Regions from separate parts of the Homo sapiens genome. Here regions 2, 3 and 4 are each linked to region 1. The links are contacts of gene promoters, found by promoter capture Hi-C in human tissues and cell types (Jung and others, 2019). All regions are on one chromosome and are shown on one strand. The core of a region is centred on a gene start or on the middle of the fragment in contact, and the rest is flanking DNA. Distances in the headings are between cores, read along the strand shown.

Region 1 (6,644 bases), core at 1,242-3,741:
TTGGCCAAGCGTGGTGGCTCATGCCTGTAATCCCAGCTACTCGGGAGGCTGAGTCAGGAGAATTGCTTGGACCTGGGAGGCAGAGGTTGCAGTGAGCTGAGATTGCGCCATTGCAACAAGAGCCTGGGCAACAAGAGCAAAACTCCGTCTCAAAAAAAAAAAAAAAACCAAAAACAAAAAACTTAAAAAATTACAAATGGATTAAAAATCTAAACGTGAAAAGTAACACTATCATGTTAATAGAAGGAAATGTAGAAAAATGTCTTAATGAAGATACCTTAAAAACCTATACAGGGGAAAACTGATGAATTTAACTTCATTAGAGTTAAATGTTTTTATTCAACACAGTGCCATAGATTAAGTTAGAAGACTTGGAGGTGGTATCTGCAGAGTGCAAAACCAACAAGGACTTGAAATCTTTATTTTTTTGAGACGGAGTTTTGCTCGTTGCCCAGGCTGGAATGCAACGGCGCAATCTCGGATCACTGCAACCTCCGCCTCCCTGGTTCAAGTGATTCTCCTGTGTCAGCCTCCTGACAAGCTGCAATTACAGGTGCATGCCACCACGCCCGGCTAATTTTTGTATTTTTAGTAGGAGACGGGGTTTCATCATATTGGTCAGGCTGGTCTCGAACTCCTGACCTCCGGTGATCCACCTGCCTCGGCCTCCCAAAGTGCTGGGATTACAGGCGTGAGCCACCGCGCCTGGCCTAAAATCTTTTTTTTTTTTTTTTTGAGACAAGGTCTTGCTCTGTTGCCCAGGCTGGAATGCAGTGGTGCGATCTCAGCTCAGGGCAACCTCTGCCTCCCGGGTTCAAGCGACTGTCCCACCTCAGCCTTTTTAGTGGCTGGGAGTACGGGCGTGCGTCAACACGCTCAGCTAATTTTTGTATTTTTGGTAGAGATGGGGTTTCACCATGTTGCCCAGGCTGATCTTGAACTCCTGGACTCCAGTGGTCCACCTACCTCAGCCTCCCAAAGTGATAGGATGACAGGTGTGAGCCACCGGGCATGGCCAGGATCTAAATCTAGAGCCTACAAGAATTCCTGCAAGCCAGGAACATAGGAAATCCACAGAGAAGTGGGAAGGGATATAAACAGGCAATTCAAAAAAGGGAAAACCCACGTTTAATAAACACATGAAAATGTAGGCCGGGAGCAGTGGCTCACGTCTGTAATTCCTTTATGCACTGCCCGTCGGGAAGTGTAATCCCTGCACTTCGGGAGGCCGAGGCGGGTGGATCACCTGAGGTCAGGAGTTCAAGACCAGACTGGCCAACCCCCCCATCTTTGCTAAAAATACAAAAAATTAGCTGGGTGTGGTGGCGCGCGTCTGTAATCCCAGCTACTCAGGAGGCTGAGGCAGAAGAATCGCTTGAACCCGAGGCGGAGGTTGCAGTGAGCCGAGATCATGCCACTGCATTCCTGCCCGAGCAACAAGAGCAAAACTCCGTCTCAAAAGAAAGAAAGAAAGAAAGAAAGAAAATGTACACGATGGGATACCACCTTACACCCCCCAGACTGATAAACATTACAAAACCAGCCGCCACTGAACGATGGAGGGATACCGGGAAACAGGAAGCTTTATGCACTGCCCGTCGGGAAGTATAAACTAGTGTGACCATTCCAAAGAACAATCCAGCAAAATTAGATATGACCAGGACCCAACTCTGGGGTGGATACCCAGAGAAATGCAACAATATGCACAAGGAGACAACTGCCAGAATATTCGTTACAGTGTGGCTTGTGGGGGTGTTAATACTAGAAAAAAATCTATCCACCACTAGGGGAATAAGTCTATGCACACAGCACCCCTCATGCAAGCACTCAGAAGTGAAAACAAGATGACTAGCATGGATGGACTCAAAAACACAATGTTGAGGAAAAAGGTTTAAAGAAAAATCACAGCATATTATATTGAAGAATTCGAAACCGCTATATAGATTTCAAAGTAACACTTGCACAAATTTACCCAAGGTGGACCGTAAAGCCACTTATATAACACACCAGAGTGGCTGTCTGAAAAGGGGAGTGAAAGGGGTCTGGGAATAGGAACGAAGAGAGGAAGTGATAAAATAAACAAGGAGCCTTGCATTGGCCCACAGGGTGTCAAGAACTGAGAAGGATCAACTCAATTTTGTGCACCTGAGGTTCTTCTTTTCAAAAAAAGAATGCCAGTTGCGAGGGTGAGGGTCCCACACCGCAGGAGATGGCACAAGTCCGGCCAAGAACGGAGGGGGCCGCGGCCGGTGCGGAGCGGCCTAGAGCGGCGGGAGGGCGGACGCCCCTTCGAGAGCTCCTCTTTCTCTCAGAAGTCACGGGGGCGAGACGGGGGCGCCAGGGCGGCGGACGAGGCACGGAGGGCAGGAAAGCCCATTCCCTACAGCCCGGAACTCCTGCTCCCAAACCTCCTCCCCGACCGCCCTGCTTACCTGGCGCCAGCTCCGGGCGCGGGCCCCGCGACCGCCATGACCTGAGACCCGAGGGACTCTGGAGCCCAGCTGCCCCTAGTTCAGTACTGGGTAGAGTCCGAGGAGGGGCGGGGCCCCGGCTACCACAGAGACGGCGTTTGATAGAGAGGAAGGTGCGGGAGACGCGGACTCTCCCGGAAGCGACCGACGTCTCTAAAAGTACCAGAGAGTGGACTCGGCTGACCCGGCGGCTACAGCGCCCCCATATTTTCTGGGAGACTTCCCTTTTGACAATAGGTATCCGAGAGTGTAACTACTTTATGGCAAGTATTTTAGATTCTGTGTATAATAGATGTTTTACATATTCTCCCAGAGAAGCCAGCATGATCTTTAAAAAAGTATAAATTAGGCTTCCAGCCGGGCCCGGTGGGTTACTCCTGTAATCCCAGCACTTTGGAAGGCCAAGGCGGGAGGATCGCTTGAGCCCAGGAATTCAAGACCAGCCTGGGCAACATGGCAAGACCCCGCCTTTACAAAAGACAAAAGCATTAGCCGGGGATGGTGGCGAGCGCCTGTGGTCCGAGCTACTCTGGAGGCTGAGGCAGGAGAATCACTTGGGCCCGGAAGGTCAAGGCTGCAGTGAGCCGTGACTGTGCCACTGCACTCCAGCCTGGGCGACAAAGAGAGACCCTGTCTCAAAAACAAATAAATAGATGATAATGATCGATAGATAAGATAGATAGTTGAATGAATGAAATGCTTATCAGTTGACTGATTAGTACCCAAAGGGAGGTGGGAAATGGCTCAAAAAAAACCCAAACAGCATGATCCCACAGGTCCCTAAATTTGAATCTGGATGTGTCTTCTCACTTTCCTCCAATCCTTATTAAGTTTCAACTGCAAGCCAAACACTCTACAACATGCATGTATCACTTGTCTTTATGAAAGTTGCAGTCTAGCTGGGTAGGTCAATCAGTTGACAATTACAGATTTTTTTTTTTTTTTTTTTTTTTTTGATACGGAGTGTTGCTTTTGTTGCCCCGGCTAGAGTGCAATGGCGCGATATCGGCTCACGGCAACCTCAGCCTCCCGGATTGAAGCCATCCTCCTGCCTCAGCCTCCCGAGTAGCTAGGATTACAGGCATGTGCCACCACGCCCAGCTAATTTAGTATTTTTAGTAGAGACAGGGTTTCTCCATATTGGTCAGGCTGGTCTTGAACTCCTAACCTCAGGTGATCTGCCCGCCTTGGCTTTCCAAAGTGTTGGGATTACAAGAGTGAGCCACCGCTCCTGGCCTTTTTTTGTTTTTGTTTTTGTTTTAGACGGAGTTTCGCTCTTGTGGCTCAGGCTGGAGTGCAATGGTGCTATCTTGGCTCACTGCAACCTGTGCCTCCCGGGTTCAAGCGATTCTCCTGCCTCAGCCTCCCGAGTAGCTGGGATTACAGGCATGCACCACTATACCCGGCTAATTTTGTATTTTTAGTAGAGACGTGGTTTCTCCATGTTGGTCAGGCTGGTCTCGAACTCCCGACCTCAGGTGATCCACCCACCTTGGCCTCTCAAAATGCTGGGATTACAGGTGTGAATCACCGTGCCCGGCCTACAGCTGTCTTTATGAAGTGCTATGACAAACATACCATACAGCAGGGGTTCTCAACTTTGGCGCCATTAAGTTTTGGGGCCTGATCATTCTTTGCTGTGTAGGCTTTCCTATGCAATGTAGGATGTTTAGCTGTATCCCAGGCCTCTACGCACTAGATGCCGGTGGCATTCCTTCTGACCTAGGCATCCCAAAATGTCTCTAAACATTGCCAAATGTCCCTTAGGGGAGAAAGGACCAAAATTCCAGCTTTACCCCACCCCCTAGCATTGAGAACCACTGCCCCAGAACCAAAGAGAAAGGCATTTAACTCAGCATGGGGAAAAGTGGAATCTAGAAAGACTTTGAAGAGGAAATAACTTTATTCAAGTATGTCTTTCTTATTTTGAAAACCAAAAAAATAGGATGCAATTTTTGAAAAATTAATAAGGCAACCAAAGTATTAAAGCAAGCAACGTCACCTCTCTAGGGTAATCTAGGTTTACAGATCTTGTCCCCTTTCAGTCTCAAAAATGTCCTAGTTTGGTATTCGGTGGCATTACTGTCCCAGGGTGCCTCAGCATTGTCTATTACTGTAAACTTTTAAGAAGTAGCAGGCTGGGCACGGTGGCTCACGCCTGTAATCCCAGCGCTTTTGGAGGCCGAAGCAGGCAAATCACCTGAGGTCAGGAGTTCAAGACCAGCCTGGCCAACATGACAAAATCCCGTCTTTACTAAAAGTACAAAAATTAGCCAGGTGTGGTGGCGGGTGCATGTAATCCCAGCTACTTGGGAGGCTGAGGCAGGAGAATTACTTGAACCCAGGAGGCGGAGGTTGCATTGAACTGAGATTGTGCCATTGTACTCCAGCCTGGGTGACAAGAGTGAGACTGTTTCAAAAAAAAAAAAAAAAAAGAAGAAGAAGAAGTAATACACCAGAGTTACCAGTGAGCAAGCGGGAGGCTACTGGAGTGCAGCAGAGCAGAGTAATGCCCAAATCAAAGGAACTTACTTCTTCAAGCTCTTCTGGCAGCGGTTCTGACAGTGATGTTGACAAAAAGTTAAAGAGGAAAAAGCAGGTTGCTCCAGAAAGACCTGTAAAGAAGCAAAAGACTGGTGAAACTTGAAGAGCTCTATCATCTTCCAAAGAGAACAGCAGCAGCAGCACAGATGATAACATGATGTTTCAGGTTAGGAAAATGAGGTACATTAGTGTTTGGGATTTTTTTTTAGACTTGTCCCCCAAGGCTGGAGCGCAATGGCACGATCTTGGCTCACTGCAACCTCTGCCTCCCAGGTTCAAGCAATTCTCCTGCCTCAGCCTCCTGAGTAGCTGAGACTGCAGGCACTCGCCACCATGCCTGGCTAAGTTCTGTCTTTTATGTCGAGACAGGGTTTCACCATGTTGGCCAGGCTGGTCTTGAACTCCTGACCTCAAGTGATCTGCCCACCTTGGCCTCCCAAAGTACTAGGATTACAAGTGTGAGCCACCAAGCCGGGCCAGTGTTTGGGATTTTAAAGGGTAATTGATATTAAATAATATTGGATGGATCCAGAAGGTGAAATGAAACCAGGAAGAGAAGGTATTTCTTTGAATTTGGAGCAAAGAAGCCAGCTGAAGGAACAGATTTTTTAAAATTTAAATTTAAAGATTATATATATATAATATATGTAAAAATATATATGTAAAATATATATATGTAAAAATATACATATATATATATATATATATATATATATTTTTTTTTTTTTTTTGAGACAGAGTCTTGCTCTGTTGCCCATGCTGGAGTGCAGTGGTGGGATCACAGCTGACCGCAGCCTCCATCTCCTGGGCTCAAGTGATCCACCTCAGCCTCCTTAGTAGCTGGGACTGTAGGTGCTGGCATCACACACAGCTAATTAAAAAAAATTTTTTTTGTAGAGAAGGCAGGGGTTGGGGGGAGGTGTCTCACTGTGTTGTCCAGGCTAGTCTTAAATTCCTAGGCTCAAGTGATCCTCCACCTTTGCCTCCCTAAGTGCTAGGATTACAGATGTGAGCCACTGCACCTGGCCAAGAACAGATTTCTGATACTGATGATGCAGTTAAGAAAACTGTGAAATTCAAGCCATATAAAACCTATACTGTTCTAGTGTAGTTGGTTTGTGTGTGTGTGTGTGTGTGTGTCTGTGTATGTGTGGTTTTTTTTTTTTTTTTTGACAGGTTCTTGCTCTGTGGTCCAGGTAGAGTGCAGTGGGATAATAATCACAGCTCACTGCAGTCTCCAACTCCTCCCACCTCAATCTCCTGAGTAGCTGGGGCTACAGGTATGCGCCAACATGCCTAGCTAATTTTTAAGTTTTTTTTTTTTTTTAAATAGAGATGAGGTCTCACTATATTGCCCAGGCTGGTCTAGAACTCCTGAGCTCAAGCGATGCTTCTGCCTCAGCCTCCCAAAGTGTTAGGATTACAGGGCGGAGCCACCGCTCCTGGCCTCTAGTTGTTTTAATCTGTCTTTTTACATTGGCTTTTGTTTTCTAAATATTGTCCTCCAAGCTATTGTATGTTTAGATTGCAGAACAACTTGTAAAATGAATACTTGTTTTAATGTGCATTATTTAAAATGTTCTGAGTGAAGCTAATTGTCAACTTTATAAGGAGAATTGCTCTGTGCCC
Region 2 (6,917 bases), core at 1,668-4,167, 1.2 Mb after region 1:
GACAGAGTGAGACTCTGTCTCAAAAAAAAAGAAAGAAAGAAAGATGAAGGTAGTGTTCATGAACAAAACCATAGTCCTTACATACTGTGTATGAGAAACCTCATTTAACAAGACAAGGGGATGGTACAGCATGGTGGTAGGGCAAGAAATCCCAGCCTGGCACCTCCTGGCTGGCGATCTTGGCAAGTCACTTCATGGCTCTGAGCCTCCATTGACTCATCTATGAAATAAGATCATGGGACCCAGATGATCTGAAAATGCCCTCAGAGGGGCAACATATTACATCAGGTGGACTTGAAGGAGGACAAGTGAATCAGTCTGCTGCTCTCATTAGCAGCTTGGCGGTGGGGAGGGTCGCTAAGCCTGCGGGGAGAGGGAGGAAAGAGGGATGGCACCTGTGGGGGCACCTGACTTGGGGCTCTTTGTGGAGAGGAGTCTAGGGCATGTGTCATCTCATCATGTTCTGGGGGTAGCTGAGTTTAGGGGAGGGGAGCCACCGTTTCTCCCAGGGACCTCTCCCCTCTTTATGCATGTTGATTACAGGGACCCTACAGATTGACTTTGGAATGGGAGAGTGGGAGTCTTGTCTCTGGGCTCGCGCCCCTGGAGAAAGGGAGGGTAAGGTGCAGCTTGGGGCCTGGGCTGAAGTAAGCCTGGCCTGTGCCCCTAATGAGGCAGGGAATCTGAGGGAGGACGGAGGTATCTGTAGGCTGAGGTGCACCAGGCCTCAGCGAGATTTATATTCTAGAAACTTCTCTGGCCCCCACACAGGCCAATTCTGTGCTGATTCATAAAAGAGAAGAAGAAGAAGGAAAAAAAAAACACTCTAGGTTCCAAAGGAGCAAATTTGTGTGAGTTTTACAAAGTCAACCTGAGCTGGAGAAGGGGTTTCCCCCAAACTCTCCCTGCACACCCAGCAATTCACTAAGAGCCTGGGAGTGTGCTGGGAGGTGGGCTGGGAGGAGGCGGGGATGGAGAGTGGGGAGGGGGACTGGGGAGGGTGCTTGTCTTCTCCTAGGACATTTATCACCAGGTTGACAGTCCGTGACCCCCCGCTTCTCATAGACTTTCCGCTATGTCACTCTGAGGCTGCAAAGCCCTGCTTGAAACCAACTTCTCTACCCTGTAGTATAATGCATCAATGTACAAAAACAACAGAAATATTTACCAAGGGGAAAAACATCCCCGATAATCTTATCACCCCATCAGATGAACTGTTTCCATTTTTCTGGGCTTCCTTCCATCCCAGTCTTCATAGTTGAATCATAAATCAACTACACTTATGGTATTAACTTTTTTTTTCTTTCCTAACGTGGTGTGATATTGGGCGAGTTTCAGTTTCCTCATCTGTAAGATGAGACCCTCATAATACCCGCCTCACACAGTGGAGTGAGCCTCAAATGAGATTCTGATTGTAAAGCACTTGGCATGGGGCCTGGCATATAATAGGTGCTCAATGAATGATTAGAATTTTTCAACTCTTTATATTATTGTGATAAAGAAAGTTGGAACTATTGTACTAACTTTAAAAGAAGCCTGGTTATAGTGAAATATCTTATATGATTATCCATTAAAGGTTTGCATCAGCAGATGTACATGTGCCCTATTATTCCACAACTAGGGGAGCCAGCCCCTGTCCATGTGGTCATTTTGGGGGTGGGGATGGGGCAAGGTGGTCTCATTATAGCTGAGACCTTTTCTTTTCTTTTCTTTCTTTCTTTTTTTTTTTTTTTTTTTGAGACAAAGTCTCACTCTGTCCCCCAGGCTGGAGTGCAGTAGCGTGATCTCGGCTCACCGCAAGCTCCATCTCCCGGGTTCACGCCATTCTCCTGCTTCAGCCTCCCAAGTAGCTGAGACTACAGGTGCCCGCCACCATGCCTGGCTAATTTTTTGTATTTTTAGTAGAGACGGGGTTTCACCGTGTTAGCCAGGATGGTCAGCTGAGACCTTTTCTGGCCTGAGTGCATGGTAGCAGGCCATGCTGATGTCACCTTTCTTGAAAGATGGGGAGATTCCAACACCCCATCTTCCCATCCCCATGATGCCCAAAGGGTCCCTGGGAATCTCAGCTCAGTTGTCCTCTCATTGTGTGTCATGGGAGAAGCGACCTTTAGATGTTCGCACAGGTGAATCAAAGTGCTGGACCCTTCCTCTACCATGCTGCAGAGAAGGGGTGGTGTTGGGGAATATTAAGTGGTGCATCTCTGCATAGCTAAAAGGCTGAGCTGGAGCATGGGCCACCGGGGCATGTGTGGTTTTGCTGAGCTTCCATTCTCTGGCCAGTGAAATGAAGTCTGTGAACATGGCGGTCATGGAGCTAAGTGATTCTTGGCTTTGGGAAGGAAATTGGCGATGTCACCGGACATTTGCCCCAAAGACTTGTCACATGATGTGAGACCTCTTTGCCTCTGAGTCACATTCTGAATCACAGGATATGGCCATATTAATGATGGCAGAGGCTGCCATTAACCAAGTGCACCCAAGCTGTAAATTCATGGAATCCTCCAAACAGCTCCATGATACATATACTGGTAATATCTTCATTTTTCAGGTGAGAAAATTAAGATGCGGAAAGATTAAATAATTTGCCTAAAGGCACATGGTTTGCAAGGGGTGGAGCTGTGATTCAATTCAGTCGTCTGATTCTAGCTTCCCCCATCCTTTTTGGAGGAGGGAAGTATCATAAAACTGTTGATTTCATTTAACAGAATTTTAAATGAAGTCTCTGCGTAGATGAACATAAGAGATAGCTAAAATCTCAATGTGAAAGGATATCCTTTCATAGAGTTTCTGAGTTTCAAGGTCCTTCCAACTGCTGACATTTGACATTTGACACCTTGAGATTTTGTCTACAGAAAGTAGCAACATCATCCTTATACAAAGACCCAACTGCGTGAGGTTGTAGTTCCGAGAGTTTCAAAATTAGTTTATTTTCTTTGTGTCAAATTTCAGTGCCATTTTCTTCCTCATTACCTCCTCCCCTCACCCTTTTCCCCTTCTCCTTTTTCTTTTTTCCCCTCCCTCTTCCTCCTCTTCCTCTACCTCTTCTTCTTTCTCTTTTCTTCTTCTATAAATTATCAAGCTATTTGAAAACACTTAGGACCTCTGTTCATTTCTCTTCATACATTAAGGTAATAGAAATTGGCCGACTTCCAGTCCCACAACAACCCTAGGGGTCACCTGATATTATTGATGGGAATTTAGCCAACACCATAATTTCAAGTTTGGCAACCATATGGGTAACAGCAAAAGAAGCTGAAAGCTTAAATTTTCCGGAGTGGTAGAATTTGTTCCAGAATGCCGGTCAAGATCCCAAATGTAGGTAGGAAAACATAGATGTCATTTGGGTTGTCCAGAGCTGGCAAGCTTCCAAATGTGCAAAACCACGGGAGGTGGGAGGTCTTCTGCTTTTGCAAAGCTTATAATACCACAGGAAGCAGCCAGACAGTCCACTCTAGAACATTCTGCCAATGAGAAGATACTGCAGAGCATGGATAAGTCACCTTTTGAGAGCCCATGCTCCTAACCAATCTGCCGTGTTGCATTTTCACTTTGAACCACGATAAGACCATTGGAAATTAGGAAAGGAATCATGTTGCCCCGACTTTTCATTCTGAAGAAGTTCTAAGGAGTTGGAGATAACATTTTTCATAGACTCTTAAAGTTTTAAGCCTCCCTAAAGGCTTCCCTAGAGTAGATCAAGCATCCTCAGCCTACAGATGAGGCCACTGAGGCTGGACCAACGGCATCTTCAGGGTCACACAGCTAGTTAGTGGCAAAGCCAGAACCAGGTCCCTAGTGATGGATTCTCAGTCCCTGGTTCTCTCTGCCACACCACATCATGTCCCTCTCAACACCAAAGCTGGAGTGGTGAGAAAAGGCTTCACAGAGGAGGAGGAGGAGGAACGTGATCTAGGCCTTGAGGGATGGGGTGTGGGTGGGCTCGAAGGAGGGGCCAGGCTTTCTAATGCCACTTTAGTTTCCTTTGTGACATTCCCAAGGGATTGTTAGCTCCTTCAAGGTAAGTAGGTCTCCCACCTTCTGCCCTATTGCAGAGTTCCTGGCATGAGGTGGACACAAAACCCTAACCCTCTTCTCCAGGGAGTGAAACTCCTTATTTTTAAGACATTTGCCAAAGCATCGGGCCCTGAATAGAAACTCAGCTTCTATTTTTCTGCTTCCTTCTTTACTTCCTACAGATGACACTTTTGAGAGCGTGCTCTCAACTACAGTCCCCTCAGCCCCTGTCTGTGGGAGCTGTCCAGCGCCCTCTGTAAGAGTGGGCTCTGGCAGCCATGTTTGTAAGACCCCCAATGAGTGACTGAGGGGCCCAGGAGTAGACTCTTGACTCAAAGTAGACTCATGAGAGTCCCTCTCCCAGTTTGGAATTTTGACTTTGAGGGGCTTCTCAGACTCCTCTGATGGCTTGGACTGAGGCAATATTGGCTCGAGGAGCTGGGGGGTGTCCATCCTCAGACACGTGGGGAAGGCCTGTGCGGAAATGGAGGGAGATGAGCAGAAGCAGGGGAGCTGCAGTGATGAGAAACCCTGAGAAGCCAGCCACCCTGGGCCTCTGGAGGTCCCTGCCCAGAGGAGGCCTTCAGCTCTTTTGAAGGCCTCTTTTCCAGTCACAGCAGAAGGACGGTCTGCTGCCTGGAACCTCACCATATTCTGATGTTATCGAGTTTCTGCAGAAGGAGCTCGCTCAGCCTGGGCTCTGACAGAGCCACCAGGGGAAGTCCTTGGTTAGACTTCGTGCTGGAGGAACCACAGTCCTGAGGGGGTGTAGGGGGAGTGTTGTTGAAGGGGAACTTTCTTCTCTTTCTTGAAGAGAGACTCTTGGCCTGGCAGTCACAATTTGACCTATGCTCTGGAAGGAATGGGAGTCTGGAGAAGATGCTCCTTCTTTTCTGCAACGGGTTTTAATCAGTGGTCTTCCTGGCACCATGAATGGAAGAGAAGAGGCCTCCTTGGTAACTTCACCTGCAGGCATTGTAATGGGTACTGAGGAGCAGAGGGACTAAGATGATCTTATCTACAGCTAGTGAGTGAGATGGACCTGTGGATAGCGCGGCAATGAGATGAAAACGCCATGCTAAGGGAATGCACAGGCAGTGAAGGGCTCCCAAGAACCTCCATCCTGGTGCATCAGAGAACGTTTCCCACTGGGGATGGCAACTGAGTGCAGGCCTAAGGAACAACTAGGAGTTGGCTAGGCCAAAGGGGTAGGAGAAAACCCAGAGGAAGCAGCAAGAATAGAAGAGTACTTTGGGAGGCCGAGGTGGGCGGACCACGAGGTTGGGAGATCGAGACCATCCTGGTTAACACAGTGAAACCCCGTCTATACTAAAAACACAAAAAATTAGCCGGGCGTGGTAGCAGGTGCCTGTAGTCCCAGCTACTCAGGAGGCTGAGGCAGGAGAATAGAGTGAACCCGGGAGGTGGAGCTTGCAGTGAGCCAAGTTCGCGCCACTGCACTCCAGCCTCGGTGACAGAGCGAGACTCCACCTCAAAAAAAAAAAAAAAAAAAAAAAAAAAGAGTAGACGAGCAGAGCTGAGAAAGACAATGGTGGGGGTCCTGGACCAGTGGCCAGAGCAGCGAAGAGTGGAACGTCTCCAGCTTCTGGCTGGAAAGCTTACCAGAAAGAAGAGGGACCACATGAGGGAGTGGGGGCTTTGTCCTGCAGAGCTGCCATCTCCAATCCTCCTGGATTATCCATTCCATCTGTTAAATTAAAAGAATTTTTTTAATTTATAAATTTCATTAGAAATTATTTTGCACAGGGACCCATGGCCTGGGACACACTGCCTTAGCCCACCCCACCCCCTGTTAAATTTTTTAGCATGCAAAAATATTTGTACATGTCTGTATATAATATAAATACAGGGCTGGCTGCAGTGGCTCACACCTGTTATCCCAGCACTTTGGGAGGCTGAGGCAGGCAGATCACTTGAGGTCAGGAGTTCAAGACCAGCCTGGCCAACATAGTGAAACCCCATCTCTACTAAAAATACAAAAATTAGCTGGGCATGGTGGTGCGCATCGGTAATCCCAGCTACTCGGGAAGCTGAGGCAGGAGAATCGCTTGTACCCAGGAGGCAGAGGTTGCAGTAAGCCGAGATGGCACTGCTGCACTCCAGCCTGGACAACAGAGTGAGACTCCATCTCAAAAAAAAAAACAAACCATATGTATAATTGCTTACAAGACAGTATACAAATATTTATTTACAAAATAGATGTTTGCTCTTATACTAATTATTAAATATGATCATAGCTTAATTTCTTTCTTATTACTTTTGGATAAAAATAAGTAGACATAGAAATTCTGAAATAGGCTCTACAACCCACTGTACATACAAGAGAACTGCTCTATAAATGAGGTTGGGAGCCCCCAGAGAGTTTGAGGACCATCCCTTTCCTCAGAATCAGCGAGATGTGTAACTGTGGCTTGGGTTGTCAAAGCCACTGCTGGTTGCCTCTGTGCTGGGTGATTCAGAGCAAGAAACCTCAGTAGCAGGCCCAGACTCTGTTGCCTTAGACTAAACATCTAGAAGCCCCTGGGCCTGGTGACCCGCAGTCTGAATTTCTGGATGTGCACACCACCATGACCGTGTGCTTTTCTTTTTTTTTTTTTAAGTCAACTGGAACCTGGACTTTATGGTTTCAGGGCTGTCAACAGAAAATGTAGAATTCACGTAGCTGCGGTCTTGCTGTGAAATTTTTGGGTAGAGTGAGCTGAACTTTCTGCCTGGACCATCTGTCCTGAACACCATACACAGCAGAAAATGGTCGAGCTTTGTCTGGGTCCAGGACATCCAGGCCAGCAAATGGCGGAGACATCATGCTGAGTAGGGGATACGGAGTTTTCCAACCACATCACAGGAACTTTCCCGGGGCTCAGGGCTCAGCTCTCAGT
Region 3 (6,814 bases), core at 3,827-6,326, 1.2 Mb before region 1:
GCCTCAGCCTCCTGAGTAGCTGGGACTACAGGCGCGCGCCACCACGCCCGGCTAATTTTTGTAGTTTTAATAGAGGCGAGGTTTCACTATGTTGGCCAGAATGGTCTCGATTTCCTGACCTCGTGATCCGCCCGCCTAGGCCCCAAAGCGCTGGGATTACAGGCGTGAGCCACCGTGCCCGGCCTTCTGAATGTATTTTTAAAGTAAAACTAGTCCATGTTAACATTGGGTAACTACTTCAGACCTAACAGGAATTTGGAATTTTCAAGTTATGTTTTTGTCCACAGACAAATTAGCAGTTTACTTTTCTTATTTACACATGATTTAGTGAAAATTTACATTATTTTATAGCTTTGGAAGCAAAGGAATCATTTATCAATCTTAACATCTTGCTAAAACAGTCTGTATTTTAGAGATCTCTTGATTGACTTTTCAAACACTATCACTGCCATTCACAAAAGGGGATTTTTGATTCTTCTTAAATAGCTTTTCTACCTTTTTTTGAAAATTGAAAGTTGCTGAAACTAGAAGAACAAAATTCCACTACCCAGAATTATTGGTATTGGCTTTTAACTTTTTATTTAGACATAATTTCAGATTTACAAAAAAAGTTGCAAGAATAGTACAAAAGAAATCTCAGCTATCTTTCACCAGATTCCTCAAATGTTAACATTTTGCCAATTTGCTTTATCCTTCTCTTCATAGGTTTCTTCTGAAATGTTTTGCTAGTAAGTTGCAGATGTGATGCCCCTTAACCCATAAATACTTAAGTGTATTTTCTAAAAATTAGGACTAGTCTTACCTAACAACAGTACGACAATCAAAATCAGGAAACTAACACTGATAAAATACCTAATCTACAGTTCTTAAATAGATTTTGCCGATTTTTCTGAGTTGGTGTACTTTTTTTTTTTTTTCCTTTTTGGAGATGGAGTCTCGCTCTGTCACCCAGGCTGGAGTGTAGTGGCGCGATCTCACCTCACTGTAACCTCCGCCTCCCGGGTTCAAGCAATTCTCTTGCCTCATCCTCCATAGAAGCTGGAATTATAGGTGCCTGCCACCATGCCTGGCTAATTTTTGTATTTTTAGTAGAGACGGGGTTTGACCATGTTGTCCAGGCTGGTCTTGGAACTTCTGACCTCAGGTGATCCACCCGCCTTGGCCTCCCAAAGTGTTGGGATTGCGTGAGCCACCGCACTTGGCCAATATGCCTTTTTTAAAATGGCAGCTATATGAACTATATTGACATAGAAAATTCACCTGTAAGTGCACAATTCAATGATTTTTGGTAAATATACAAAGTTATGCATCCATTACCCCAAAAGGATTCCTTCTGTCTGTTTGCAAGTCACCCTGTTCCACCCCAGTTTCAGGCAAGCCCTCATTTTTCTGTATAGATAGTAGTAGATAGCGCTGCTTTTTTGTTTTATTTGGTTTTTGAGATGGGGTCTCTTTCACCCAGGTGGAGGGCAGTGCTGCGATCTTGGCTCACTGCAACTTCCGCATTTCAGGCTTAAGCAATCCTCCCACCCCAGCCTCCCAAGTAGCTGGGACCACAGGTGCACGCCACCATGCCTGGCTATTTTTTTGTATTTTTGGTAGAGATGGGGTTTCACCATGTTGCCCAGGCGGGTCTGGAACTCAGGCTCAAAGGATCCACCTGCCTCGTCCTCCCAAAGTGCTGGGATTACAGGTATGAGCCACTGTGCCCAGCCTTGTTTTTGTTTTTAAAAAGATGAATTCTTCCTGTGTTGCTCAGGCTGGAGTGCAGTGGCTATTCACAGGCGTAATCCCACTATTGATCAGTTTGGGAGTTTTGCCCTTCTCTGTTGGCAACCTGGTGGTTCTCTCTCATCCCAGGAGGTCACCATATTAATGCTGAATGGACTTAGCATGAACACCTGATCAGTAGCGTGCTGCAGCCCAGAACTCCAGGGCTCAAGTGATCCTCCTGCGTAGCTGTGACTATAGGCAGGCACAGGAGTGTTGCTCTTTAATCATTGAAAATGGTAAAACAACAAAAGTGGCAATGTCAGAAAAAGATCAACTCTTTTTTGGAGATTTCCAAACAATTGAGTATTTTCATACTTCTGAAAAGCTTTGCTGTAAAAGTAGTTTTTCTGTTAAGCATTTCCCATTCTTCTTTGGGCATAAAACACTTTTTTTTTTCTAGGAATAATTCCTGCAGACCTGACACATAATTGGAAGTAGATATTGAATGAATGAGTGAGTTGTATGTGAATATTTGCTCAGAGGAATCTCAGTTCATTATCATTTCAGAAATTTGGCACGTAGTGTACTGATGGAGCTAGTCTAAAATAATCTATCCTGGGAGAAATAATTTTGTTTCTATCTGGATAAGTCTACAATAGAGGAATGCTTATTAGCAGTGTTTTGCTGTATTTTGCATACTTGCAGTATTCTTAAGAGTGCAGAAAAAAATAGTTTGAAAGATTCAAAGAGAAAAAAGTGAAAAAAGAAAAGCTGAGTGCATGCATATGTTGAGTACTAGAGATATGTCTTCAGGGTTTCTTTTTGGACCAGATTTCTTGAGATAAAATTTGCATACAATAAAATGCATCTGTTTTAATTTCAATGAGTTTAGACAAATGCATATACTTGTGTGACCACCGCTACACTAGAGGTAGGGAACCCTTCTATCATAGGTTTCTGTTATTTTATTTAATTTTTGGGGGGCCTCACTCTGTCGCCCAGGCTTGAGTGCAGTGGTGTGAGCTCGGCTCATTGCAACCTCCACCTCCCGGGCTCAAGCGATTCTCCCATCTCAGCCTCCTGAGTATCTGGGACCACAGGTGCATGCTACCACACCTGGCTAATTTTTTGTATTTTTGGTAGAGATGGGGTTTCACCATGTCGCCCAGGCTGGTCTTGAACTCCTGAGCTCAAGTGATCTGCATGCCTTGGCCTCCCAAAACGCCGGGATTACAGGTATGAGCCACTGCACCTGGCCCAGGTTCCTGTTTTTATTATCGTGGGCTATAGAGTTTCTTTTTTTTGAGATGGAGTCTGGCTCTGTCGCCCAGGCTGGAGTGCAGTGGCACAATCTCTGCTCACTGCAAGCTCCGCCTCCCGGGTTCACGCCATTCTCCTGCCTCAGCCTCCCGAGTAGCTGGGACTACAGGCGCCTGCCACTATGCCCGGCTAAATTTTTGTATTTTTAGTAGAGACGAGATTTCACTGTGTTAGCCAGGATGGTCTCGATCTCCTGACTTCGTGATCCACCCACCTCGGCCTCCCAAAGTGCTGGGATTACAGGCTTGAGCCACCGCGCCCGGCCCGGAGTTTCATACTTAGCAGGAAAAGGTGCTTTGAACCTTCTAAAATGTGAGGTACTTTCAATATTTTAAAAAATGCTATGGAAATGATTTCAGTGCCATAAGATAACTCTGCATTTCTCTCTTTTAAATCCCACATATTATACAATCCCTCAGCAAATCCTATTGGCTGCCTTCAAAATATATCCAGGATCCAACAACTTGATAGCACTTTCACCACTACCACCTGTTCCAGGCCACCATCTCTCCAGGCTACCATCTCTTATATGGATTATTGTACCAGTCTCTTGCTTGTATCCTGTTCCCTTCCAGGCTTAACACAGTGGCCAGTGATACTGTTAAAATGTGACAAGTCAGAAACTCTTCAAATGATTTTCACCTCATTCAGAGTTAAAACTAAAATGTTTATTTACATTGTGTTACATAGCCCTACACTCTACTCATAATACTCAGTATTTATTTCTGATTTTCTTCATTTATTCTGCTCCAGTCATACTGTTGGCCTTGCTATTCCTCCCTCAAATACACCATTCCTGCTTCAGCCTCTTTGTATTTGTCTTTTCCTTTGCTTGGAAGTCTCTTTCCCCCAGATATGAATAGGGCTTCCTGCCTCTGCCTCTTTTAAATCTTTGTTCTAATCTTCACCTTCTTGGTGAGGCCTAATCGCTGTATTTAAAATAAACTACTCCATAGCTCTCTTCCCTAATTTATTTTTCTACAAAGTACATACCATCTTTCAATGTATTATAATTTATTTTGTTTATCATCTATAGGTAACAGATAAGCTTTGCTTATGATTATGAAAGTTAATTCTCAATCAGTTTCACATGGCAAAACACATAAACCTGTGTTGAAATAAGTAGTTGGTAATCTTTTAGGCTGCTTAAAGTGGACATTAGTATTTATCAAAGATGAGAAATGTTTTCTGATTTTCCATGAGAGACCAATCTTTTTTATTTTTGTTTTGAAATGGAGTCTCGCTCTGTCACCCAGGTTGGAGTGCAGTGGCGCGGTCCCAGCTCACTGCAACCTCTGCCTCCCAGGTTTAAGCAATTCTCCTGCCTCAGTCTCCCGAGTAGCTGGGACTACGGGCGCCTACCACCATTCCTGGCTAATTTTTGTATTTTTAATAGAGACGGGCTTTCACCATGTTGGCCAGTCTGGCCTCGAACTCCTGACCTTGTGATCCGCCCGCCTCAGCCTCCCAAAGTGCTGGGATTACAGATGTGAGCCACCGCGCCCAGGAGAGGCCAGTTATCTTAAAGGAATATCCATAAAAATTAGCTGTTAACTGGTATTTTTGCCTTCACCTTTGAAGTCCAGCCTATCAACAAGCAAGTTTTGGCAGCTCCAAATAAAGGGGAATATGTTATGGAAAAATTTGAAGTGAATGGAATGGGTATATTGGCATAAACGAAAATTAAATATATCTGGTTAACTCTGCAGAATGAATTACACATTTAAAAACCATAAAATATAACTTAAATACCAAGAATATAGAGTTTTACTTTTTTTTTTTTTTTAGACGGAGTCTTACTCTGTCGTTCAGGTTGGAGTGCAGTGGCGCGACCTCGGCTCACTGCAACATCTGCCTCCCAGGTTCAAGCAATTCTCCTGCCTCACCTTCCAGAGTAGCTGGGATTACAGGTGCGCACCACCACACCTGGCTAATTTTGTTTGTTTGTTTGTTTGTTTTCTTTTGAGACAGAGTCTCACTGTGTCACCCAGGCTAGAGTGCAGTGGCGCGATCTCGGCTCACTGCAACCTCGGCCTCCCGAGTTCAAGTGATCTCCTGCCTTTGCCTCTTGAGTAGCTGGGATTACAGGCACCCGCCACCACACCCAGCTAGTTTTTGTATTTTAGTAGAGACGGGGTTTCACCATGTTGGCCGGGCTGGTCTCCAACTCCTGACCTCAAGTGATCGGTCTGCCTCGGCCTCCCAAAGTGCTGGGATTACAGGGGTGAGCCACTGTGCCCAGCTAATTTTTTTTTTTTTTGAAACTGAGTCTTGCTCTGTCGCCAAGGTGGAGTGCAGTGGCGCAGTCTTGGCTCACTGCAACCCCTGCCACCCAGGTTCAAGCAATTCCCCTGCCTCAGCCTCCTGAGTAGCTGGGACTACAGGCGCACACTACCATGCCTGGATAACTTTTTGTATTAGATACGGGGTTTCGCCGTGTTGGCCAGGATGGTCTTGATCTCCTGACCTTGTGATCTGCCTGCCTTGGCCTCCCAAAGTGCTGGGATTACAGGCATGAGCCACCTCACCCAGCCCAGTGTTTATATTTTTAGTGGAGACAGGGGTTTCACCATTTTGGCCAGGCTGGTCTCGAACTCCTGACCTCCAGTGATCTGCCCGCCTTGGCCTCCCAAAGTGCTGGGATTACAGGTGTGAGCCACCGCCCCTGACCGAGAGTTTTAGTTTTTAAGCATTATTTATATCTAATATTATTGGGGGAAAAGTGGTTTTAAAAATGAGTTCATGGCCCAGTCTTGTAACCATTGTGAGGCTAGGCACTGGGCCATTGCTAGAATATAGTATGCGGCATGAGATAGCATAATAAATTTGTTTATTGAAGTCCTCAGAGTTTGTTTACTGATTTATTCATTAATCAGTTTATTCAACAGGTATGAAAACCAACTATCCTAAGAAAGCACTGAGATAGGCTATTATAATGATAATAGAAGAGCTTCTGTAAGTAGGACAGTAGCCCTTTCTGTTTTAAAAAGAGATACCACCCCCAGTTTTTGGTTTTGGTCAAAAAGTTTTACAGAAAGTTTATTTTAAAACTCAACACATTTACAGTCTTGCAATCTTGTGTTTTTCATTGTTAATATGTACTGATAACCTACCTACTGTTTAAAACATTTCTAATACCTCATTTGCCAAGTATATTAAATCCTCCTAAGGGCTGGGCGCAGTGGCTTATACCTGTAATCCCAGCACTTTGGGAGGCCGAGGCCGACGGATCACTTGAGGCCAGGAGTTTGAGACCAGCCTGGCCATACATGGTGAAACCCCGTCTCTACTAAAAATACAAAAATTAGCTGAGCTTGGTCGTGCGTGCCTTGTGGTGTGCACCTGTAATCCTAGCTACTTGGGAGGCTGAGGCAGGAGAATCGCTTGAACCCGACAGGCGGAGGTTTCAGTGAGCTGAGATGGTGCCTCTGCACTCCTGGGTGACAGAGCAAGACTCCATCTCAAAAAAAAAAAAAAAAAAATGCATCCTAGGGATTCCTTTACCTATAAAGTTTTCTAAATATTTTAAGTATACTGTGTTTTCTGAAATTGAAGTTTAGTTTTATTGAATATGGTATTATCCCAATTTAAGTCAAAGGAATTCTGAGGAAGTAGAGCTGTGAGCATGTAGGTCATGCTTTTCTGTTTTAAAGAAATGTCTAGTAAACAGGTAAACGCATACTCAACCTCATTAGTCATGAGGGAAATGTAAATTGAAATAAGAGTATATTTTACTTATGAAATTGTGAGAATTTTGACACTGATCTATTCTACCAATGAT
Region 4 (7,414 bases), core at 2,472-4,971, 1.3 Mb before region 1:
CCCTTGAAAACATGGTAAGTGAAAGGAGCCACAATCAAAAGACCACATAGTGTACGACTCCATTTATATGAAACGTCCAGAGCAGGCAGATTCATAGACAGCAAGTAGATTAGTGGTTGCTAGAGGAAGGAGGGAGGAGGGAGAGACTGCTAAAGCTGGGTTTCTATTTGGAAAGATGAAAATATTCCAGAATTAGATAGTGGTAAGGACTGTACAACTTTATGAACATACTAAAAATACTGAATTATATACTTTAAACTGGTGAATATTATGGTATGTGAATTACATCTCAATACAGTTTTTGGTTTTGGTTTTGTTTTTTTTGAGACGGAGTTTTTGCCTGTTGCCCAGGCTGGAGTGCAGTGGCATGATCTTGGCTCACTGCAACCTCCACCTCCTGGGTTTAAGTGATTCTCCCGCCTCAAACTCCCGAGTAGCTGGGATTACAGGCATGCGCTGTCATGCCCAGCTAATTTTTGTATTTTTAGTAGCCCAGGGTCAAAGCTCCTGATTCAAAGAGCTTATGGCTACTGCAGCCAAAGGAGTGAGGAAGCTTCACATCAAGTATCTTCCAGCCAACAGAGAATAAAACACGTTGCTTTTTCTTTTTTTTTTTTTTTTCTGAGACAGAGTCTAGCTCTGTCGCCCAGGCTGGAGTGCAGTGGCGCAATCTCAGCTCACTGCAAGCTCCACCTCCCAGGTTCACGCCATTCTCCTGCCTCAGCCTCCAGAGTAGCTGGGACTACAGGCGCCCGCCACCACGCCCGGCTAATTTTTTGTATTTTTTAGTAGAGATGGGGTTTCAGCGTGTTAGCCAGGATGGTCTCAATCTCCTGACCTCGTGATCCGCCCGCCTCGGCCTCCCAAAGCACTGGGATTACAGGTGTGACCACCGTGCCCAGCCCTTTTTTTCTTTTCTTTTTTTTTTTTTTTTTTGAGACAGGATCTCACTCTGTCACCCAGGCTGGAGTCCAGGGGCACAATCTCAGCTCACTGCAACCTCCGCCTTCTGGATTCAAGCCATTCTCCTGCCTCAGCCTCCAGAGTAGCTGGTACTACAGGCACATGTCACCACACCCAGCTAATTTTTTTTGTACTTTTAGTAGAGATGGGATTTCGCCATGTTTGCCAGGCTGGTCTCAAACTCCTGACTTCAGGTGATCTGCCTCTCCACCTCCCAAAGTGCTGGGACTATAGAGGTGAACACCTTGCTGATTCTCAAGAGTCTGCTGGTTTGATAACAGAGAAATATACAGACCACTCAGTGTGAAAATATGATAAACCTTTGTTTCCTATAATCTCATCAAGATAGTAAACCAAATCCCCGTGCTTTGGGAGGCCAAGACGGGAGGATCGCTTGAGCCCTGGAATTCAAGACTACCTTAAGCAACATAGCAAGACCCCAACTCTACAAAATCAAAAAATTAGCTGGGCGTAGTGGTTCACGCCTATAGTCCTAGCTACTCAGGAGGCTGGGACAGGAGAATCACTTGAGCCCAAGAGGTGGAGGTTGCAGTGGGCCGAGATCGTGCCACTGCACTCCAGCCTGGGCAACAGAGCAAGACTCTAACTGGAAAAAAAAAAAAGTAAACCACTCATTATTATATTAATGACATCACTATTGTTTCATTATTAAGAGCCTGAATATTCCTGATAATACTAACAGTTCACTGAATGCCGGCTGCAGTGACAGTGCCCTTCACTACAGCCATGAGGGCAGGGCCGTGTCTACCTTATCTTTACATGCAGAGCACTCAGGACACCGCCTGGCACACAGGAGGAGCTCAGTGTACAGCTGCTGAGTGAATGAGTGAGTGAATAAACGCCAGGCACCTTGTTAGGTACCCAGGTACCTTAAACGCTTCTCCCATCATACATCTTCCACAGGGCTGAACACACAGCAGCATTTCATAAACTTGGTGATGGGCTAACCGATCTAGCAGACAACGGAGAGAAACAAGAAGTTACACAGAATAGCCCATTTTGGACCCGTGTCACTCAGCCAGCCTGGTTCCAAGCTGCTAAGTCGGCCAGCAAGAGAAACAAAACAAAAGCTCCGTAAAGCTCTACCGGCACGGAGTCAGGTGAGCTCAGGGTGGCTGCTGGAAGAGCCATCCACCTGCTCCACCAGGCCTGGTATGGAAGACCAGGCCTAGGGATTTTCTCCCCATGGAAATCTACTCTGTCGCGACTCTTTACAAACAAAACAGCCACTGCTATCCTGAGTATCTAAGAGCAGGCACCTGAAAGTGGGGACGGGGGAACATTTAGGTACAGAATTGAATGTCTCGGGATTCATATTAAGTGTCCACCAAATGATGTACTATATATATATATATAACTCATATGGGATGGAAAGAAAACACTCCTTGCCTGCATTTGGTGATACCACTTAGCCATTTGGTATTCGGGGGTATGTCCAATGTGGATGTCCATGTGTTGGGCCTATAGATGAGTCCAGTGCAAATAATACTCCTGGGAGGAGGAACTCAAAGCTCCAGGCTGTTTTTTCTACTGACAAGCAGTGAACAATCCCTTAACGTGCACCGACTGCATTTTCGTCATGTGAAAGGAGGCTAGGCCAGGTGCAGTGGCTCACACCTGTAATCCCAGCACTGTGGGAGGCCAAAGCAGATGGATCACTTGAGCCCAGGGGTTTGAGACCAGCCTTGGCAACCTAGCAAAACCCTATCTCTACTAAAAATACAAAAAATTGGCCAGGCGTTGCGGCACGTCCCTGTAATCTCAACTACTCAGGAGGCTGAGGTGGGAGAATTGCTTGAGCCTGGGGAGAGTTTGCAGTGAGCCGAGATCACGCCACTGTACTCCAGCCTGGGTGACAGTGAGACCCCGTCTCAAAAAAAAAAAAAAAAGGAGGCTATAACCATCTTTGCAGGTGCTAATTAACCAAATAAACAGATACGCAGGAAAATGCTGGCACACTGAAACCACACTTCTCTGGCACAGTTCTCTGCCTTTCATGTTACTTTGCTTCCTGATATACTACTAAATTCATCCTTAACACATGAGTATTTTTCCCTAAGCCAGAAAGGAGAGAACAGCCTAGCCTAGGTGGTAGCAAGACCGGTTTTCAGTCAGGGAGGGAAAGGCAGAGAAAAATAAGAAGATTCCCTTTGATGAGGGAAGGAAGGGCCCAGGAAGGAACGAAGCTCCAGCTCTACTTGTTCGGCTTGTCTACACTCAGTGACCCCATGGTGCTCCAATCCTGGAGTTAAATAGGTTACCTGGCCCTGAGCTCGGCCAACTGGCCACCCCATCCAAGTTGACAACATGTTTGAAATGGTCACTGGCCTTACCAACAGCAAACGCAGGAGGGATACCAAAGCCACCCCTCCCCAACTTTTGCCTTCCATCTTCCCCAAGCTTGCTAGGCCTCAGGCGAGTCCAAAACACCTGAATGCCACTACAGGCTTTGAAACCATGGTGTGGCCTTGGGAAAGTTACTTAACTACTCAACACCTCAGGGAAATGAGATAATAACAGATGTCCAGCTCCTAGCGACACTCAGCGGACTAAAAGAGATAAAGTATGTAAAAGGCATAGCACAGTGCCTGGCATGGAGTAAGCACTCGATACGTGAACCATTATTAAAGACCAGTCCACTGGGAAAACACCCAGGTGCACAGCAGCAGCAGCTGGGCTTGCACCTGTGAATTGCTCATTTGGGGGCTGATTCAGCAATGTAGTAAGATCTAAATGAATTCTACCTAAAATGAAAGAGCTCACTGCTTGCATCAGATAACCACCTCCTGCTAATCAAAACACATTTTTTTTTTTTTTATGAGACGGAGTCTCACTCTGTCGCCCAGGCTGGAGTGCAGTGGCACGATCTCAGCTCACTGCAAGTTCCGCCTCCCCGGTTCAGGCCATTCTCCTGCCTCAGCCTTTGGAGTAGCTGGGACTACAGGCCCGCCACCACGCCCGGAGAATTTTTTGTATTTTTAGTGGAGACGGGGTTTCACCGTGTTAGCCAGGATGGTCTCAATCTCCTGACCTCGTGATCCGCCCGCCTGGGCCTCCCAAAGTCCTGGGATTGTAGGCGTGAGCCACCGCGCCCGGCCAAAACACATTATTATTCATACTGGCTTTAGAGCTGGCTCTTAGTAACTATCTAATATTGTACTAATCTTTACGAGGCTGGGCGTGGTGGCTCACGCCTGTAATCCCAGCACTTTGGGAGGCCTAGGAAGGTTGATCACTTGAAGCAGGGAGTTCGAGACCAGCCTGGCCAACGTGGTGAAACCCCATCTCCACTAAAAATATAAAAATTAGCTGGGTGTGGTGGCACATGCCTGTAATCCCAGCTACTCGGGAGGCTAAGGCGGGAGAATCACTTGAACCCAGGAGGTGTAGGTTGCAGTGAGCCGAGATTGCACCACTGCTCTCCAGCCTGGCCAACAGAGTAAGACTCTGTCTAAAAACCTTTACAAAACCCAGCAGCACCTCCCTCTCTCCCTCCAATTCACCCAAAGCTTTTTACTTTGTATAGACTCCCAAGAAGAGTCTGTAAAATGAAATATAACTGTACTCAATGATCCCCCACCCCAGTTCCTTTTTTTTTTTTTTTTTTTTTTTTGAGACAGAGTCTAACTCTGTCGCCCAGGCTGGAGTGCAGTGCCGCAATCTTGGGTTACTGCAACCTCTGCTTCCCTGGTTCAAGCGATTATCCTGCCTCAGCCTCCTGAGTAGCTGGGACTACAGACACGTGCCACCATACCTAGGTAATTTTTTGTATTTTTAGTAGAGACAGGGTTTATGTTGTCCAGCTGGTCTCGAACTCCCTGATCTCAGGTGATCTGCCTGCCTTAGCCTCTCAAAGTGCTGGGATTACAGGGATAAGCCACTGCGCCCAGCCCCAATTTAGAATTCAGAATAGTTCATGGTAGTGAAAAGTGTCCAGCATCAACCTGCGACCCAAGCAGGCCAAGGGAATGATGATGTTCTCCCTCGAGAGATTCCTTCCAAGCCCTCACAGAATCATTCTAGAATGAAAGACCATGTACCGGCTCTGTTCCAAGGAGGCCTGAAAAGGGAAACCAAGAGGTGAGGAAGGAACTAAAGAGCCTTGGAAGGAAGGAAGTTCAACACAGCACAGTCAGAGATTCTAGAAGTTAAACCCCAACAAACCTGGAAAACACTCTTAAGAAAAGTAGTTTGGCACCAAGGTCTTTTCAGTACTGGCCCCTGGGAAAAACAGATTTAATCTGTACCAACTACAATCATACATTACTCCAATTTTTTTTTTCTAAAGACAGGTCTTGCTCTGTTGCCCAGGTTGGAATACAGTGATTCACTGCAGCCTCCACCTCTCAGGCTCAATCAATCTCCTGCCTCAGCCTCCTAGGTAGCTAGGAGGACTACTGGCGTGCACCACCATAGCTGGCTAAACTTATTTTTTGTAGAGACAGGGTCTCTCTATGTTGCCCAGGCTGGTCTTGAACTCCTGGCCTCAGGCAATACTCCTTCCTTGGCCTCCCAAAGCACTTGGGATTATAGGTGTGAGCCACTGAGCCCAACCCCATGGCCTAAATTTCAAACAGGATTTTACCTAAACTATGTCAAACAGATCAGTAACCAGTCTATTTTAAAGTCCAAATGATTAGATTTCTTCCAATAGCAAGGTTTAAGTTCTATTAAATCTGTTTCCTCAACACAGCAAGTTTAGAAAATTTCTTTTCATTCTATCCTAAAGGGTATGTATACCTCATGTCTATCCACGTACATGTTGCTAGAGTTTCACATAAAAACACAATCATTTCTCAATCAAATGTTTTCTGAAGACACTGAAGTCACGGGGTTGGTCTCACAAACACACTGAGCACATTTGGCAGGGGCAAAGATCACTTTCTTCCACTCTAGTGTCCCCAAAGTGTTCCATTACTTGAGAGGTCAGGAATTCCTCTCCATGTCTTATAACTACCAGTGGTGCTTCTGACACTATGCTTCACAGAGACTGCCTGCAGCTCCTCTCCTATCCTAGCAGAAATAAAAGTGTTTCTTTTTTTATTTTTTTGTGTGTGAGACGGAGTTTCACTCTTGTTGCCCAGGCTGGAGTGCAATGGCACGATCTCGGCTCACCGCAACCTCTGCCTCCCGGGTGCAAGTGATTCTCCTGCCTCAGCTTCCTAAGTAGCTGGGATTACAGGCATGTGCCACCACACCCAGCTAATTTTGTATTTTTAGTAGAGACGGGGTTTCTCCATGTTGGTCAGGCTGGTCTCGAACTCCTGACCTCAGTGATCCGTCCGTCTCAGCCTCCCAAAGTGCTGGGATTACAGGCGTAAGCCACCATGCCTGGCCTAATAAAAGTGTTTCTATGCAGAGATGGTCCACAAAAATTCTTTTTTTAAAAAAAGTCATTTTTAGCTCCCTGATCAGTTTCTTTGACCACATCCAACACACCCAGTTCAGCAATCCATTTATATCTGAATAAAAAGCTTTCCAAGGCAAAGATGAATTCTGAGGACACACTGGAAATACCGAGTCATCCCCAAGCCCCACCTCATCCTCAAGGGAACTTTCTGAGGAGCTTCTGGATGGGAGATGCAGCTGCCTTTTTAAGTGGCATAGCATATCCATATTTGGCCAGCTGTGAAAACAGATGTAAGCTCCAGTAAAGGCCTGTCAGTAAGCAGAATGGTCTTTCATTCTGGAATGATTCTGAGGGCTAAGAAAGGACTTAACAGTAAAAGCTAAGCTACACAAACCAGGCTAGAAAAGAGAGTTAGGTTTAAATCATACCCTGGGCAACTGACTCAACCCTTCTCTTGCTCAAAGCCTCCATTCCCACCCACCACCTCTGTTAACATTTTCCCACTCTTCCAGCGCTAAACACCCCAACTAGAATGTACTCCAGGCTGGCAGAGATATGGTCTGTGTTGTTCACTACCGTAACCTTAGCACAGTGCCTGACGCAAAATAGGAAATCAAGACACAATTGATCAATAAATGAATGAACACAGCACAAAATGTCTAGACGCTATATCCTCTGGGGGAGGGAATGGTATAGTATCACCATTAAAGGTTCAACCAACCTCACTCTATCATCCACTGACTTTAGGATAACTTTATTCAACCCCTCTGGGGCTCTGTTATTCACCTCTAAAATGAAGATAACAACACAATCTACTTCATAGGATTTCTGCAAAAATTAAATAAGATGATGTACATCAGGCACTTAGCACAGTGGAGGCCCAGAATAACTTGTAGTAAATGCTAGAGGCATGCTGACTGACATCATTGCTGCTTTGCCCCAAGCCAGAGTCATCACCATCAGCTGGAAATTTCATTATCCCAAGTAAAAGCTCTCCTTAGGGAGGCTGGGCGCGGAGGCTCACGCCTGTAATCTCAGCACTATGGGAGGCCGAGGCGGGAGGATCACAAGGTCAGGAGT

The links. The method cuts DNA at HindIII sites, captures the fragments that hold promoters and counts their contacts. A contact is called where the count stands out against the background at its distance.
Region 2: a contact is called between a fragment that was not itself captured here and the fragment with the promoter of ABCD4 in region 1, in 1 of the 25 tissues and cell types used here (liver).
Region 3: a contact is called between a fragment that was not itself captured here and the fragment with the promoter of ABCD4 in region 1, in 1 of the 25 tissues and cell types used here (liver).
Region 4: a contact is called between a fragment that was not itself captured here and the fragment with the promoter of ABCD4 in region 1, in 1 of the 25 tissues and cell types used here (neural progenitor cells).

Annotation. Positions count from the first base shown.
Region 1 is chr14:74,300,443-74,307,086 of GRCh38, forward strand. It overlaps ABCD4 (ATP binding cassette subfamily D member 4), which reads right to left and starts at 2,492. Exons shown (of 19, transcript NM_005050.4): 1 at 2,433-2,492. The coding sequence starts at 2,470. It also overlaps a transcript of VRTN not described here and the pseudogene SUB1P2. RefSeq lists a silencer at 2,241-2,320 and an enhancer at 2,581-2,940. The HindIII fragment of the contact is 36,493 bases long and covers 1-6,644 here.
Region 2 is chr14:75,492,690-75,499,606 of GRCh38, forward strand. No RefSeq gene overlaps it. Among named protein-coding and RNA genes, the nearest start is that of BATF, 26 kb to the right of the region's middle. RefSeq lists an enhancer at 4,442-4,501. The HindIII fragment of the contact is 3,218 bases long and covers 1,309-4,526 here.
Region 3 is chr14:73,060,151-73,066,964 of GRCh38, forward strand. The region is part of intron 1 of RBM25 (RNA binding motif protein 25); the gene reads left to right. Among named protein-coding and RNA genes, the nearest start is that of RBM25-AS1, 4.1 kb to the left of the region's middle. RefSeq lists enhancers at 4,798-5,298, 5,299-5,799. The HindIII fragment of the contact is 8,376 bases long and covers 889-6,814 here.
Region 4 is chr14:73,002,137-73,009,550 of GRCh38, forward strand. All of the region lies in intron 2 of ZFYVE1 (zinc finger FYVE-type containing 1), which reads right to left. Among named protein-coding and RNA genes, the nearest start is that of ZFYVE1, 21 kb to the right of the region's middle. The HindIII fragment of the contact is 3,507 bases long and covers 1,969-5,475 here.